Regions from separate parts of the Homo sapiens genome. Here regions 2, 3, 4 and 5 are each linked to region 1. Evidence: promoter capture Hi-C in 16 types of primary human blood cells and fetal thymus (Javierre and others, 2016). All regions are on one chromosome and are shown on one strand. Each heading gives the region's core, a stretch centred on a gene start or on the middle of the fragment in contact. The rest is flanking DNA. Distances are from core to core; before and after follow the strand shown. Region 1 holds the start of CEP120 (centrosomal protein 120). Region 2 has its middle 110 kb from the start of CSNK1G3. Region 3 overlaps CSNK1G3 (casein kinase 1 gamma 3). Region 4 overlaps CSNK1G3 (casein kinase 1 gamma 3). Region 5 overlaps CSNK1G3 (casein kinase 1 gamma 3).

Region 1 (2,673 bases), core at 77-2,576:
AATCTGTTCTCCAACCACACTGAATTTAACCAATGTTTACTGAGTGAATTTAATTAAGCAAGGCAAAACGTGTCTTGCTTTTCCATACTTTAAGTGCTCCCTGCTCTTCTCTTTGCCTGGAATGCCCTTCCTTTTTTCACCTGACAAATTCCTAATCATCTGTAGGACCCCAAAAAATGCCACCTCCTCTAGTGAAACTTCCGCAGTTTCCTTAGACAGAGGTGGTCATTCATTAGGGTCTTCCACATCCTGATGAATTATTTGCTGACACACTCTCCTTGCTACATCCTTAGCTTTTTAGAATCAGGACTGTTTCATTCTTACATTCCCAGCACAGTGTCTGACACTCAATGAGTCCCAATAAACCAATGTCATTCATCCAAAACACACCTTTTAAGGAATGTATAATACACCCTCTTAAGAACTGTAGTCCCCTGAGTCCTCCAGCAAGACGTGTAAAGGGAATTGCCTCCGGAACACTTCTGGAATCGCAGGAAGCCTGTATTCAAGTCAAAGCTCTTACAAGTGCTATTATTGGGAACCGCTGATCAGAACGCGCTTCTCAGGACCACGTTCAGCTCATATATAAAAGCCATCGACGTGCTGCTTTGGATGAAAATCGTTTTCTCTAGATTCTCTGGGGCTACGGCTAGTCACGCTAAATATCACTTATCCCTAATAGCGCTCATATCCCTGGAGAGATTTTTAAATCAATTGCCTAACAGACCTCACTACGTACAACTTTGAACAAGTCTGTGGGGACCACAAAAGCACAGATGACAGGGTTCTTAAGGTTAACAAGGCCTCGGTCCCACACTAAGCTTTTAAAACTCGGGAGGCAGCAGTTGCAAAAGCAAGCCTCAGGCTGCTCACCTTCTAGGATGGACACGACGATGAGCAATTGGTCGGATTTGGAGACCATGGTTGCGGTGAGCGGTCCGGGGGCGAAGGCGGCTGGGGGGAAGTGAGGTCCAGTTGAGTCGCGGGTAATCCGGGACCCCCGGCGGGACCCCCACTGCCCGCCCCCGGTCCCTGATGCCCGGACCCCGCTCCGCAGCCAGGTCCCACCGCCGTCTGCTGCAGCGCGCCCGGCTCCTCTGCCTCGGGCCGCCAGCCCAGATCCTAACTGTGCCCCGACTCAAGGAAAAAGCCACGCTGCAGCCCTGCCAGTCTGCAAGCAGAGACAAGCCCGCCACCCGAGGACCTTTTGCCGCCTGCGTAGCCGCTTTTCAAACGCCCGGGCGGCCGCAGCGGCCGCCGCCGCGCCCAGCTTCCGCCTAGCAACCAGGCCCGCAGGCCCAGTGCCCAGGGGAGGTTGGAGGACAACGGGTGATAGAGACAGAGCAGTCAAGGCTAGAACGCCCGTCAGCGAGCTTCGCCTCCCGCCCTTTTACGCTCTGTTCCAGAGCCCTAAGGAGGACGCCTTCATTACCTCACAGCGCCCTCTGCTAGCCGGACGAGGAGAGGCGGGCGACTTGGTGTGGGACCAGCTGCGCAAGCGCACTACTGCTGTAAACGCTTCCTGAAGCTGCGTAGCCTTTAAGGAGCGTGAGTGTAGCGTATTACCTGCTTTATGCTTCAGCCACAACCTGAGAGTTATATTAGTGGGGATTAAAAAAACAAAAAAACCTAGCTTAGTTGACGTACCCAGTGTCAACACTGCTTAAAAAATTAAATCACAAAAAAATAATGACTTAAATCTAAACTCTAAAGTCCCTAAATCGTGCTCACGCGGCACCTCAAATTTCCGACCTTTGAAAACAAGTAGCTTCAATACGGTAATTACTGTACTTGTTAAAGCTGACGTAAACTCCCCGAGAATTTCCTGTCCCTTAGAAATTACCCCTAAAACAAAAACACTGTCACGTGGGCAATGAAATATAAAGGTTCTTCCACCCCCGATGACAAAGTTATTAGCAAACTCAAAACCAAAAATAAACAAGGCATTGAGGTGCTGTCTGCCGACCCTTTCCCCTTAACGTCTCCCAAATTCAGATTTAAGAAACGGTTCAAGACTTGTAAAGGGAACGGCCTCCTAAACACTACTCAAATTGCAAGAAGCATGTATTCAAGTCAAAGGCAAAGTTCTTTTGGAGGTTATCTAGCTTGAAACTTAAATAACCGAATTGGTTGGAGCGATCGTGGACACTATTAAGTTTGGGAAAAATTCTGCTTCGGAAAACAAAAGTAAATCATAATAAAATAAAGCTGCAGAGATAGCACTAGGTAGTGGACATAAGTGCGGCTTCTCCTATTACTTTCTGGTTTTGTAAATTGAGAAGTTGTTTTGAGAGCAAATATAATATCTCGCTGTTTTCTTTTTCTTCTATTGCTTCCTTGTTTTGGAAATTTAGAAGTTATTTTGAGAGCAAATAATATAATATCACTATTGTTTTCTTCTTCCTCTTCTTTATTCTTCCTTCTTTGCTTTCTGCCCAAAAGAAAAGGAGGAATATGTAGAGATTGGACTAATTACTTCTAAGGCCCTTTCAGGTCCTATCACAGGCATTCTTAAAATGAAGCACTATTCAATGTAAAATCAAAGTAATGATCTACTTTGGATTCATCATTGAACAATGCATTATTTTTGTGGAAGATGTCAAACATACTTTAAAGAAAGCAGAATGATATAATGAACCCCCAGTTACCCAGACCCCAGCTTCAACGATTATC
Region 2 (2,673 bases), core at 82-2,581, 200 kb after region 1:
TTAATACTTGAATTTTTTGTGTGATACAGGGCTACTAATGATAAGAATCGAGTGATTTTGAGGGGATATCTCACTAAATTGGGGTTCAAAATTAATTGCAAGCATTCATTTGTTAATGCTGGCCTGTAATGTGATTTTTTGTATTTCATCTTTGAAAACATCTTCTCACTCAAATAGATACATCCATGTACTGTTATCAGTTGTGATTGTGTAATTTTAATTGATCATATTCATCATTTGGAAGGTATTTATAGAATTCTATTAGATTCTGCTATTGCCATTTGCCTTTTAGCTGTCATTACATTGCATATTAATCACTTCCTGTTGAAGGTTAGGTGGATGCTCAATTGTATATTTAAGTGAATAATTAAATAGAAAAATTTCCTTTGCAGTTGCCTTAAGGTTCAGTAATGCAGCTTGAACTATAGTAGAACTTGGAAAATACGTTCACTGCAAGTTTGTGCGGGAATGGAGATCTTGTTTCTTATCTTGACAGCATGGGAAATATATAAAGCCAGCTTGATATTACTTGTGATTTAAACAACATTTGTTGCCATCAAAATGACCTTGTCACAGTATGTTTCACATGTAAGTGCTGTTTTGCCTCATAATTGTAGGTTGAATTTATTAGAAAGCATTATTAAGTTTGCAGCAAAAGCTAATTTCCAAAGCTATTCAGTGTTTGAAAATAGTTTGAGGGTGATTCTCCTCATCCATAACGAATTCAGTCTTGGTTCTGAGCTCAAAAAATTACAATAAAACTACCGTTCCAACCTGGGCAACATGGCAAAACCCCGTTTCTACAAAAAATTAGCGAGACATGGTGGCATGCATCCATAGTCCCAGCTACCCAGGAGGCTGAGGTGGGAGGATGTCCTGAGCCCAGGAGTCGAGGCTGCAGCAAGCCATGATTATGCTGCTGCACTCCAGCCTGGGCAACAGAGTGAGATCCTGTGTCTAACAAACAAAGCCAAAAACCTTTACTGCTGCCATCAAACCGCTATGTAATTGGGCAAGTCAGAATACTCAACTTCTATTTCTAACAAAACTAAATGGAACCAATGATGATTAAGATCACAAGTGAATAAAATTTACCATTGACTTTACTAGTTGGATGACAATTCAAATATTTCCCACAAATACCTGCTGATGAATAATGCACCATATAACCATTGAGCAATTTATTCAGCTATGCGGGTTTTTTTTCTTTTTTTTTTTTTTTTTTTTGGCCACTTCACACATTTTTACCACCATGAATTGCCACACATCTTAGCAGATTCTACTTCAGGTTGTACTAAATTGGTGTTTTCTCGACTTCTTTGAAATATTCTTTCCTGTAGTTATTGTATGCAGACTATTCATAAAGGCTAGTTCTTGAGTCACTTCAAACTCAGCATTGACTTCTCAAGTATACAACGGGGCAGTATTGGTAACATTTGTTGACTCACCAAAAGCCAAGCAAAGCTACTTGAAATCATTTGCCTTGTTTTTTAATTAACTGTTGGTGTTGCCACAGTGTCCTCATGTCTCCAAGCAAGTATTCTTGCTGAAAAGCTAGTAGTCATAAAGAAGTTTTTGTTTGGGCCCACTTTCTGGTTGCTACAATCAAACACAATTAAATTAACTCTAACTCACCATCAGTATATAGCTGTCTTTGCTTGGCTAACAAATGAGCCACTCAGAAAGTTACTTTGGTTACACCCTTATTCTAATTTTTTAAATTAGTAGATTATGCTGTGATAAGATACTACATTTTAAGTTTTCTAATTGTTCTGTTGATTTCCTGTGGGTTGGGAATATTGTGATGAGTGCTTAGTCTGGAAATATATTTTTGAGCACAGTGAAAGTGTCATTGCATAATAAACACAATGCTTTGCCATATAGTTCTACTACAATTCACACTCCACTGTGCCTTAAAAGTGCAACACTCAAAGTCCACTTTTTAAAACTTTTTTTGACATGATGTATATGCACTGGTAATAAAAAATAATAAAATGTCCGTATGACAATATGTATGACACTTGAAATGCTGTTGAGTTTTATAGCCATCACTGAGATTTGTAGCATGTTGAATAGCAGTGCAAAACAATGAAAGCACCACATATGGTTACTGTCACAATTATTCACCTCTGCCTTTGTAGCATGAAAGCAGCCATAGTCAATGTGTAAATGAATGAACATGGCTGTGTTCCAATAAAATTTTATTTATGGACACTAAAATTTGAATTTCATATAATTTTTATGTGTCATAAAATTCCCTCTTAATTTTTTTCAACCATTTAGAAATGTTAAGTGTCATTCTTAGTTTGTGAGCTGAGCAAAAATAGGAGGTGGGCTGAACTTGGCCTGCAGACCATAGTTTGCCAACATTTGTTCTGTGCCACACTGGAAAGATTTGAATGTTTGAATTAAATTAGTTTTTACCTAATTGCATGAAACTGCTTACCAAAAGATGACCTTTCCTCCTTTTATGAAAGAAAATTTCATTTTGAAGTAGCACCAAGAATTAAAATATTATGGAAAATGCAACCACAGTACATATGGGAGTTAGAAATCAAATGAGGTCTAAGTCTGGCTCACGTATGAACTTAGATATTGAAGCAGTGTGCAGCTTTAGAAAGAGCATGAATGTCAGAATTAGACAAATTTAATTTCAGTCTAAACTTCTTGTGA
Region 3 (2,673 bases), core at 45-2,544, 170 kb after region 1:
AATTAATGGTACAAATTAGTGTAAACTTTTAGGAATATGTGATATTCTGTTAGAATGGAAGTATTTGGATACCCTATTAGAATGAATTGTAATAACACTTGGACTTTCTAACTGTAGTTTAGTTCAATAAATTATTTATTGAATTTCTGCTATTGTAAAGCTACTGTTCTACACATTATAGAAATTCAGAAGTAAAGAAGACTGTATAACCTTTAAGAATGATTTTGTCACCAGTGTCTAAAAGCAGTGTTGTAGCTAAGAGTTCACTCAATTCTTTAGAATCAGGCATACATGGATATGGCTTGACCCTGGGCAAATAAGTTAATCTGTCAAAGCCTCAGTTTCCTCATCTATAAAATGGAAATAATGCATGTTAATTTAGAGCATACAGTAAGCTTTGAATCAAAACTCTTGTGTCTGCTGTTACTGTTATTATTATTACAATAAATACAGAAATAGCTATATTTAAAAAGAGAATAAGCTATATTACATGAAACACTAATAAAGTAGCATGGAGATCATATGTGGGGCTCTATGAAGATTTTATGGAAAAGGTAGCTTTTGACATGAACCTAAAGAATGAATGGAGTTTTTAAAGGGAAATGAAGATAAGGGCATTTTGGGGAGAGTGAATAATATAAAATATGAAGCAGAAGTTTAAAAATAGAGAATTTGAGGAATAGCAAGCGGTTCAAATTTGTTTGGAGCAGGAGGTAGGTAGAGATGGATTAGAGAGGGAGTAGAGAGTCAGTCTGAGATAAGGCATAGAAGTTGATCAAGTAGCGAGTTCATGTTTCCTGGCCAGGTAAAGGAATAGAAAGCTGTTGAAATTTTTGGGCAATGTTTTAATTTTTCTCTCTCTCTTTCTCTTTTTTTTGGTAAAAAAGTTTTATCGAAGACATCTTTGACTTAAAAATTTCACTATCACACTGAGTTAAGGAGTGTCTAGAAATTTTCTCTTACAATCCATTTTGGAGAAGGATAGTATGCCGTCCTTTTTGACTTTTATATTGTTTATCCCATCAAAGTTTAAGTGAAGATTAAAGATTAAAACAGGATGACAATCAAAAGAAAGAACACCACTTGTTAAAAATCATAGCAAAATAAAATGCTACATTTTAGGGAGTGTTTAACAATATTATGCTATATATATATATATAGCATGGCCAGTTTTAAAAGATTAATATTAAATTTTTGACTTAGAAAAATTGGTACTATAAAGCATCTCATACATAAATTACTTCATATATAAATTAAAATTAGTTGATAGCTGGAGTGCTGTGAAAAGATTCTGTATAAAGAAAGAAATGGCTCAGAAGTTGAGACTTAGTTTGTGTTTTATAAACCAGAGTTAATTCCTTGAATGTACTTGGAAGAAGATTAATACGGTATTCTTTGAAATTCTCCACTTGAGCTGTTAGGTATTATAATAAGTGAAATTCCTCTATTGTTGAATTAAATTATAAATCTAATGTTTTAGACTTTTAGTTTTCTACATCTTTCAGACATGTCTTGCTAACTAGAGTATAAGCTCACTGAGGGTAGGAACCATGTTTCATTTGTCCAGTCCTTGCACTAAATGTAGGGTGGGTGTGTGTGTATATATACACACACACACACACACACACACACATATATATAATATTTAGGCAATTCTTTAGGATAGGCTTATATATTGAATTTGGGATGTGAATATACACACTTTCATCATGATAGAAAAGTTGTATATTTAAAAAAAACTTCTTAAATATCTCTAGACCACTAAGCAGCTTAAGTTCTACAAGAAACCCACAGTTCACAATCCCAGAGGAAGATAGATTATGTCACGTGACTTAAACCTTTGTAATGCCCCTAGATAAATGAGTTAAGTTGAGGGGATCCTGAAATTGTTGGGTACATGTAATTGTTTATTTTCAGGAGAGGGCGTGTAGCTCTTACTATATTCTTAGAGAGTTCCATGACCCCAAAATATTGCGCATTGCCCTAGATGTTTGTCTCAATTTTAGCATCATTTTTATTCTTTGATCTTGTCTAGACTTGACTTCATCTGATTTGATTTCAACTTAAGCTACAAATCTGCTTAATTCTGGTTATGGATTTGGAGGGTTTAACGAAAAGACATTATAGAACTGTCATAGTTTTGATGACATACTTTATGCCACAGAGTATGTAATTTTGCATTGTACAATTTAGGAAGCTTAGTGCCAGAACATGTATTCATGTGTCTACTTGAATTTTACATCTCTCCCCTTAAGGTTGTTCTGGCCAACAATATGCTTGAGGCTCCCCATACTCCAATATGCTTGGCACTTTGTGGCAAGATTTTCATGACTTTGTTTGAAAAAGAAAGAAAAGAGTACTGAAGGCTTTAGAATATATTTAATTTTCGTAAGGAGCTAGGTAGTATTATTGGAAGAGCATTATGCTCTGAGTTGGAATTCCTGTTGTACTCCTTGGTAGGTCTGTAACTGTGGGGAAGTGGTTAATGTCTCACTGTCTTCATCAGTAAAAGTGGATGATAATATCTACCTCAAAATATGGTAATATATAAAGCAGCTAATTCAGAACCAAACATGTAATAAAGTTTAAATAGTATATTCTTCTCCCTACTTTTTATTAGTGTTGTCCACATTTTCCTGAAACAGAAGTTGTCCCCTATTAAGAAACTTCTCT
Region 4 (2,673 bases), core at 88-2,587, 150 kb after region 1:
TTTATTCATTGACTCATTAATTCTACAAATTTATCCTATGGATGTTTTCATAGGTACTTAAAGCTTTATATGAAAGGATGTTTATAATAAAAAAAGGAGAAGCAACCCAAATATGCAGAAATAACAGGGTTAGTTGAATAAATTAATATCCAGAGGAAAATATGCAGCTGTTAAAAAGTGCATATTAAAGATTGTTTTATAGGCTAGGTGTGGTGGCTTGTGCCTGTAATCCCAGCACTTTGGGGAGTCTGAGGCTAGAGGATCACTTGAGCCCAGGAGTTCAAGATCAATCTGGGCAACATAGTGTGACTCTGTCTCTACAAAAATAAAAATAAAAAAAAAAATAAGCCAGGTGTGGTGGTGTGCTTGTGTAGTCCCAACTGCTGAGGAGGTTGAGGCAAGAGGATTGCTTGAGCCCGGAGGTTAAAGGTTGAAGCTGCAATGAGCTATGCGTTCCATCCTGGGTGGCAGAGTGAGACCCTGTCCCTGCCCCCACACACAAAACATCAAAAAACCAACCAACTGCCCCCAAACAAAACAAAGAATATTTCATGACTTTGCAAATGCTCATATCATTAATTAAGAATATATAGACATAGAATATTGTACATTATATGCTGCAAAGTTTGTTAAACAAACTAGAATGGCCTGTGTAGCCATATGTTTACATTGCATTGTTAACCATGATTATCACTAAATGAAGCAGTTTTATTTTCTTATTTGTAATACTCTATTTTATGACAGTTTGTACAATGAACATTGAGAATCTGTAAAATAATTAACAAAAATGAGCTATATTATTAATATTAGAGTTGGATTTCAGACTTTTCTAGCTTTATGATCTTTCTAGCTTCAAGATTAATCATTTTTAAATGTTTAATACCTAGGAAAAAGTAAAGGAAACATGTTATGAAAAAGAAAAAGATACTGAATAGTGCTGTTGTTTTTACTTAATAGTTTAGACTCTTAAGTTTCTTTAATATACTTGTAAAAGTTGCTTGGTTATTGAACTGATAAGGAAGATTATATTGCAATGTTTTGCATATGTCTGCTTATACTTTTGGGTTCAAGGTCTTATATCAATGTGGCTTTTTGATTTTATGAAGTAGCATCCTCTGAAAGTGTTCATTGAATCAGGCTTGCTGATATGAAAGGAATTCATAAAATTCAAATACTCTCGTTTAGCAGTGACCATAACAGTAAAGGCAAAGATTTTAAATTGCAATTTGCTATGTGAAGAATGATAGGCTGACATCATTTTACTTTTAAAGGGTTGAAACAATTTCTGATTTATTTCTTTTGTATGTTTTCATTCTGTCTTGCCTTTATCATACTTGCTTAGGCTAGTCAAAGCCCAAAATAAAACTTCTCTTCTTTTTTTCTTAAACCAAGATTTCTCGCATGGAATATGTCCATTCAAAGAACTTGATATACAGAGATGTAAAACCTGAGAACTTCTTAATAGGACGACCAGGAAACAAAACCCAGCAAGTTATTCACATTATAGATTTTGGTTTGGCAAAGGAATATATTGATCCGGAGACAAAGAAACACATACCATACAGAGAACACAAGAGCCTTACAGGAACAGCTAGATATATGAGCATAAACACACATTTAGGAAAAGGTATGTGTACCTTTCGTAAGTATGGAAGTTTGAACTTAGCAGCTGTGCTAACACTGTGAGTTTTTATTTGTTATGGTTCAGTTTTTGCAGATTATAATAGCTTTTATTATAATTTTCATTTATCACATCTACCTAGAGTTTACTTTCACTTATATTTTAATAAAACTCTTTGAAAGTAAGTTACTATAGAGTAAATGAGTGACAGCTATCTTTACATTCACTGTATTTTTTGTATTTATATAACTTGAAGTGTTCAACTTTGATACAGTTATGGGGATGCATTTAATCATTTCTCTTACAAAATATGAGAGAATACCAAATTTTAACTGAATTCAGTACATGTGGAAATTTTGGATTGAGACCATAGCTCTCCAATATGGCTAGCCACAGAAATAGCAACTAGCCTAATAAGTATAATGCTAACAGCATATACCTTAGAGGTGGGCAGAGCTGGCTTACCTGTATGCTAACTATGACTTCGGACAAGTTTAACCTTTTTAAGGGGTTTCTTATTGGTAAAAAGAGTAAAACAATATCAACTTCACAGGATTTTTTATAGCATTCTTCCTTCACCCAGATTCATATTTATCATATCCCTTAAATCATTTTCATCTGGAACAGTTCCTCAGTCGTTCGTTATGGCTCATGACCTTAATATTTTTTAGGAGCACAGGCTATTTTATAGGATATCTCCAATTTGGGTCTGTTATTTCTTTTTGACTAGATTTGGGTAGGCATTTTGAGCACAAATATCACAGAAGTGATGTGTTCTTAGTGCATCATGTTGGGATCACTTGCTTGGACGATATCTGCCAAATTTCTCTACTGAAAAGTTTCTTGTAGTTAGATTTTGGGATTATGTAAACATGTTGTTCCTCATCAGATTTTTGCCCTCTAGATTTAGCATCCATTGATGATTTTCTAACTCCATTATTTCTAATATTTACATTTCCTTATTTGTCAGTTGATATTCTAATGTCAGCAGAAGCTTTACCTTCTCCCCCAGTTATTGACTTATGTCTATATGAACTTATTAATTCTTATCT
Region 5 (2,673 bases), core at 96-2,595, 130 kb after region 1:
GCATTGTAGAACTGGATCTTGGCCCTATTTTTAATTTAGGGAAGGATTTTTAATTAGATAAAAATTAACAAGATTTTGCCTTCTGATTCAAACATTTTGGTAAAACAAAAGTGTTCTTAGTATTCAGGATTATATTCTTTGAAAACATACTTCCAGGTAGCTTCTGAAATTTCTTTTTAAATTGTTACTTCATATATATGGCAAAGCTGGCTATTGCTTGACTTTGAGGGATGCAGAAATGCTTGATGTGGTAGGTGATAGATAACAGGGAAAGCAAACTCCCGTGGAATTATTCTGAAGTTTTCAATGTGCCCAGTATGACAGCTGCAGAGCAGAGCGATCTCTTTGGAAAAATTGGGATCTAGGAATTATTTTTGTAAGACATACTTTTCCTGGTACAACTTTTCTGTCTGGTTTGCAGCCAGGTTTCCCTGTTTCATTCATTAAGTGGTGATCCTTAGGTCCTATTGTTTATAGATTTGGAACTTTTTCATACCATTGATGCCTTACTAAACATTTATCATGTCATCTTTCAGCCTTCTTATATACATACACATATATGTATGTGTATGAGGTTTAGCATGGCTTGGTTTTCTCTGCCTTTTTCAACCTTGTCTCTGTCAATATAACCTCTGTTATTAGGGTAATATGAAATGAATATATAAAAGAGAGACTATTAGGAGAAGAGGCAAATGGGAGGAAATAGAAAAACTCCACTATTTAATTTTAAGTATCTTTTGAATATAGACCAAGTTTTAGTGTAACAAATGTTTATTTTCACTTGAAATAAAGATGTGGAGTAGGGTTGCAGTGCCATGAAGAGAGATTGGTTGGCTGACATGTGGCTTTAGACTGGATTTTACCTAGATGAGTCCGTCTTGGTATTAAGATCTGGTCCTTGGCTTATGAAACAAAACGTGATTAGGTTATCTCACCAGTTGTCAGCGTTTCTTAGAGGTGGATTCACAGTAATCAGTTCACACTATCAAGCTCTCAGATTCAGGAAAGAGTGAATTTCTAACTAATAATGAGGTATTTTACAGGTCTAGAAAGCCCAAGTTTCTTTCTATGGGCCGATGTACATAGAAAGCCAAGTTAAAATTTCAAGGTCCCCTCATGAGCATGAAATCAGAAAGAGGTTGGTGAATATTAATCACAGCGGGGAGGCCTACTGTGGGATCCGCCTGCCTCGGCCTCCCAAAGTGCTGGGATTACAGGCGTGAGCCACTGTGCCCAGCCTGGACGTTGTTTGAACAGGCATTGCTGACTTTCATTTCTTTGAAATTCTTCCTTTTCTCATGTTGTAGGCCAGTGGTCCTGAACCTACAACAATCTTTGTGGTGTGCAAGGATAAAAGTGTGGCAGTGTTTACAGTCTGTGCTATTGATACAACAGCCTGTAGTGGGCAGCTCTACTCATGGGAGCATGCTTTGTATGTGAATGATAGTTATCTGATATATTAAGGCAGATAAACCATCGTGTCAAAGCAGAAACCCCTGCTCTAGGCTGAGCTTTCCTTGTCTGTTTCATTCATTAAGTGGTGATCCTTAGGTCCTGTTATTTATAGATTTGGAACTTGTTCATACCATTGATGCCTTACTAAACGTTTATTATGTCATCTTTCAGCCTTCTTATATACATACACATATATCACTTTTTTAAGTTTATTTTTGTGCTGTATCTCTGTCCTCTTAACTAGTTTTCTCCCCTTTTTAGGGGGAAACATTCTTCCTCCTCTCTGTTTTGTCTTTCTTTAAAGCACAATGATCAGCATTACATGTAATAATTATGGTTATACATTGTTCTTTGGGGGAACTAGGAATATTTTTGGATCTATGTCTCTAGTATTTTGAGGTTGTAGAGTGGTATCTAGTCACGTTCACCTCAAGTTCATCCAAAATATCGGAAGGACAGAAAACTTTTCACATACATTGTTGAATGATAGTTCATGATTTCCTTATATGTTTTTTCATTTGTGTCTGTTATATCTGTTTGTGCCAGATAACATGATTTTGTTTAGACCTGCCATAAAAGTAATCACTTGAACATCTTATGTCTGCATACCTCAGTGTTATCTGGCTTTTATACTTTGCTCGGTACAAATAAAGGCATTATTTGATAACCTGAGTTCAGAGAGCAGATTTCTGTGACTGCTTTCACTCCATTATCTCTTACAAAGATTTTTTACATTTATCTAATATTACCCTAGTTCAGATCAACAGTTTGTTTCAGGATAATTTGTTAATATTACCTCAGCTACCATCCTTATATCTTGTTGTACATGAATAATGAAAATGTCATCCTGGGGAAGGTGACTTTTATTATATAGTGTTAAAATTTTACTGCTTAAGTACTGGAATCTAGTTGAAATGACTCAACTAAGTCAGATTTGGGTCAGTATTTTTATCCTAAGGGGGAGTAGTGATTGAATAAGTTATATATTTAATTTCATTTGTGATTGTGTACATGGACATCTTTTTATTGCATCTTAAGGTTATGTACTTCTAGGTAGTTAACTGAAGAATTATAGGTAATATAGTGCTATATGTATAGAAGGCACTGTTTTAAGTACTTTATATATAAGAAAGGTTAAGTTTTAACCCAATTTTACAGATGAGGGAACTGGAAAGTACAGAAAAGTTAAGTAACTTGCTGAAAGTCACACAGCTAGAA

The links. The method cuts DNA at HindIII sites, captures the fragments that hold promoters and counts their contacts. A CHiCAGO score of 5 or more calls a contact.
Region 2: a contact is called between a fragment that was not itself captured here and the fragment with the promoter of CEP120 in region 1, in 5 of 17 cell types (total CD8 T cells, activated CD4 T cells, non-activated CD4 T cells and 2 more). The highest score is 8.9, in total CD8 T cells.
Region 3: a fragment that was not itself captured here is called in contact with the fragment with the promoter of CEP120 in region 1 in 8 of 17 cell types (total CD4 T cells, activated CD4 T cells, total CD8 T cells and 5 more); the score reaches 12.8 in total CD4 T cells.
Region 4: a contact is called between a fragment that was not itself captured here and the fragment with the promoter of CEP120 in region 1, in 8 of 17 cell types (naive CD8 T cells, total CD8 T cells, activated CD4 T cells and 5 more). The highest score is 11.4, in naive CD8 T cells.
Region 5: a fragment that was not itself captured here is called in contact with the fragment with the promoter of CEP120 in region 1 in 8 of 17 cell types (total CD4 T cells, naive CD4 T cells, total CD8 T cells and 5 more); the score reaches 10.2 in total CD4 T cells.

Annotation. Positions count from the first base shown.
Region 1 is chr5:123,422,077-123,424,749 of GRCh38, forward strand. It overlaps CEP120 (centrosomal protein 120), which reads right to left and starts at 1,327. Exons shown (of 20, transcript NM_001375405.1): 1 at 874-1,327. The coding sequence starts at 922. RefSeq lists an enhancer at 593-1,538 and a silencer at 868-1,027. The HindIII fragment of the contact is 3,797 bases long and covers 820-2,673 here.
Region 2 is chr5:123,618,321-123,620,993 of GRCh38, forward strand. No RefSeq gene overlaps it. Among named protein-coding and RNA genes, the nearest start is that of CSNK1G3, 110 kb to the left of the region's middle. The HindIII fragment of the contact is 3,805 bases long and covers 1-2,673 here.
Region 3 is chr5:123,591,597-123,594,269 of GRCh38, forward strand. All of the region lies in intron 10 of CSNK1G3 (casein kinase 1 gamma 3), which reads left to right. Among named protein-coding and RNA genes, the nearest start is that of CSNK1G3, 81 kb to the left of the region's middle. The HindIII fragment of the contact is 1,802 bases long and covers 394-2,195 here.
Region 4 is chr5:123,574,337-123,577,009 of GRCh38, forward strand. It overlaps CSNK1G3 (casein kinase 1 gamma 3), which reads left to right. Exons shown (of 14, transcript NM_001364140.2): 6 at 1,393-1,627. Among named protein-coding and RNA genes, the nearest start is that of CSNK1G3, 63 kb to the left of the region's middle. The HindIII fragment of the contact is 2,552 bases long and covers 62-2,613 here.
Region 5 is chr5:123,553,388-123,556,060 of GRCh38, forward strand. All of the region lies in intron 3 of CSNK1G3 (casein kinase 1 gamma 3), which reads left to right. Among named protein-coding and RNA genes, the nearest start is that of CSNK1G3, 43 kb to the left of the region's middle. The HindIII fragment of the contact is 8,472 bases long and covers 1-2,673 here.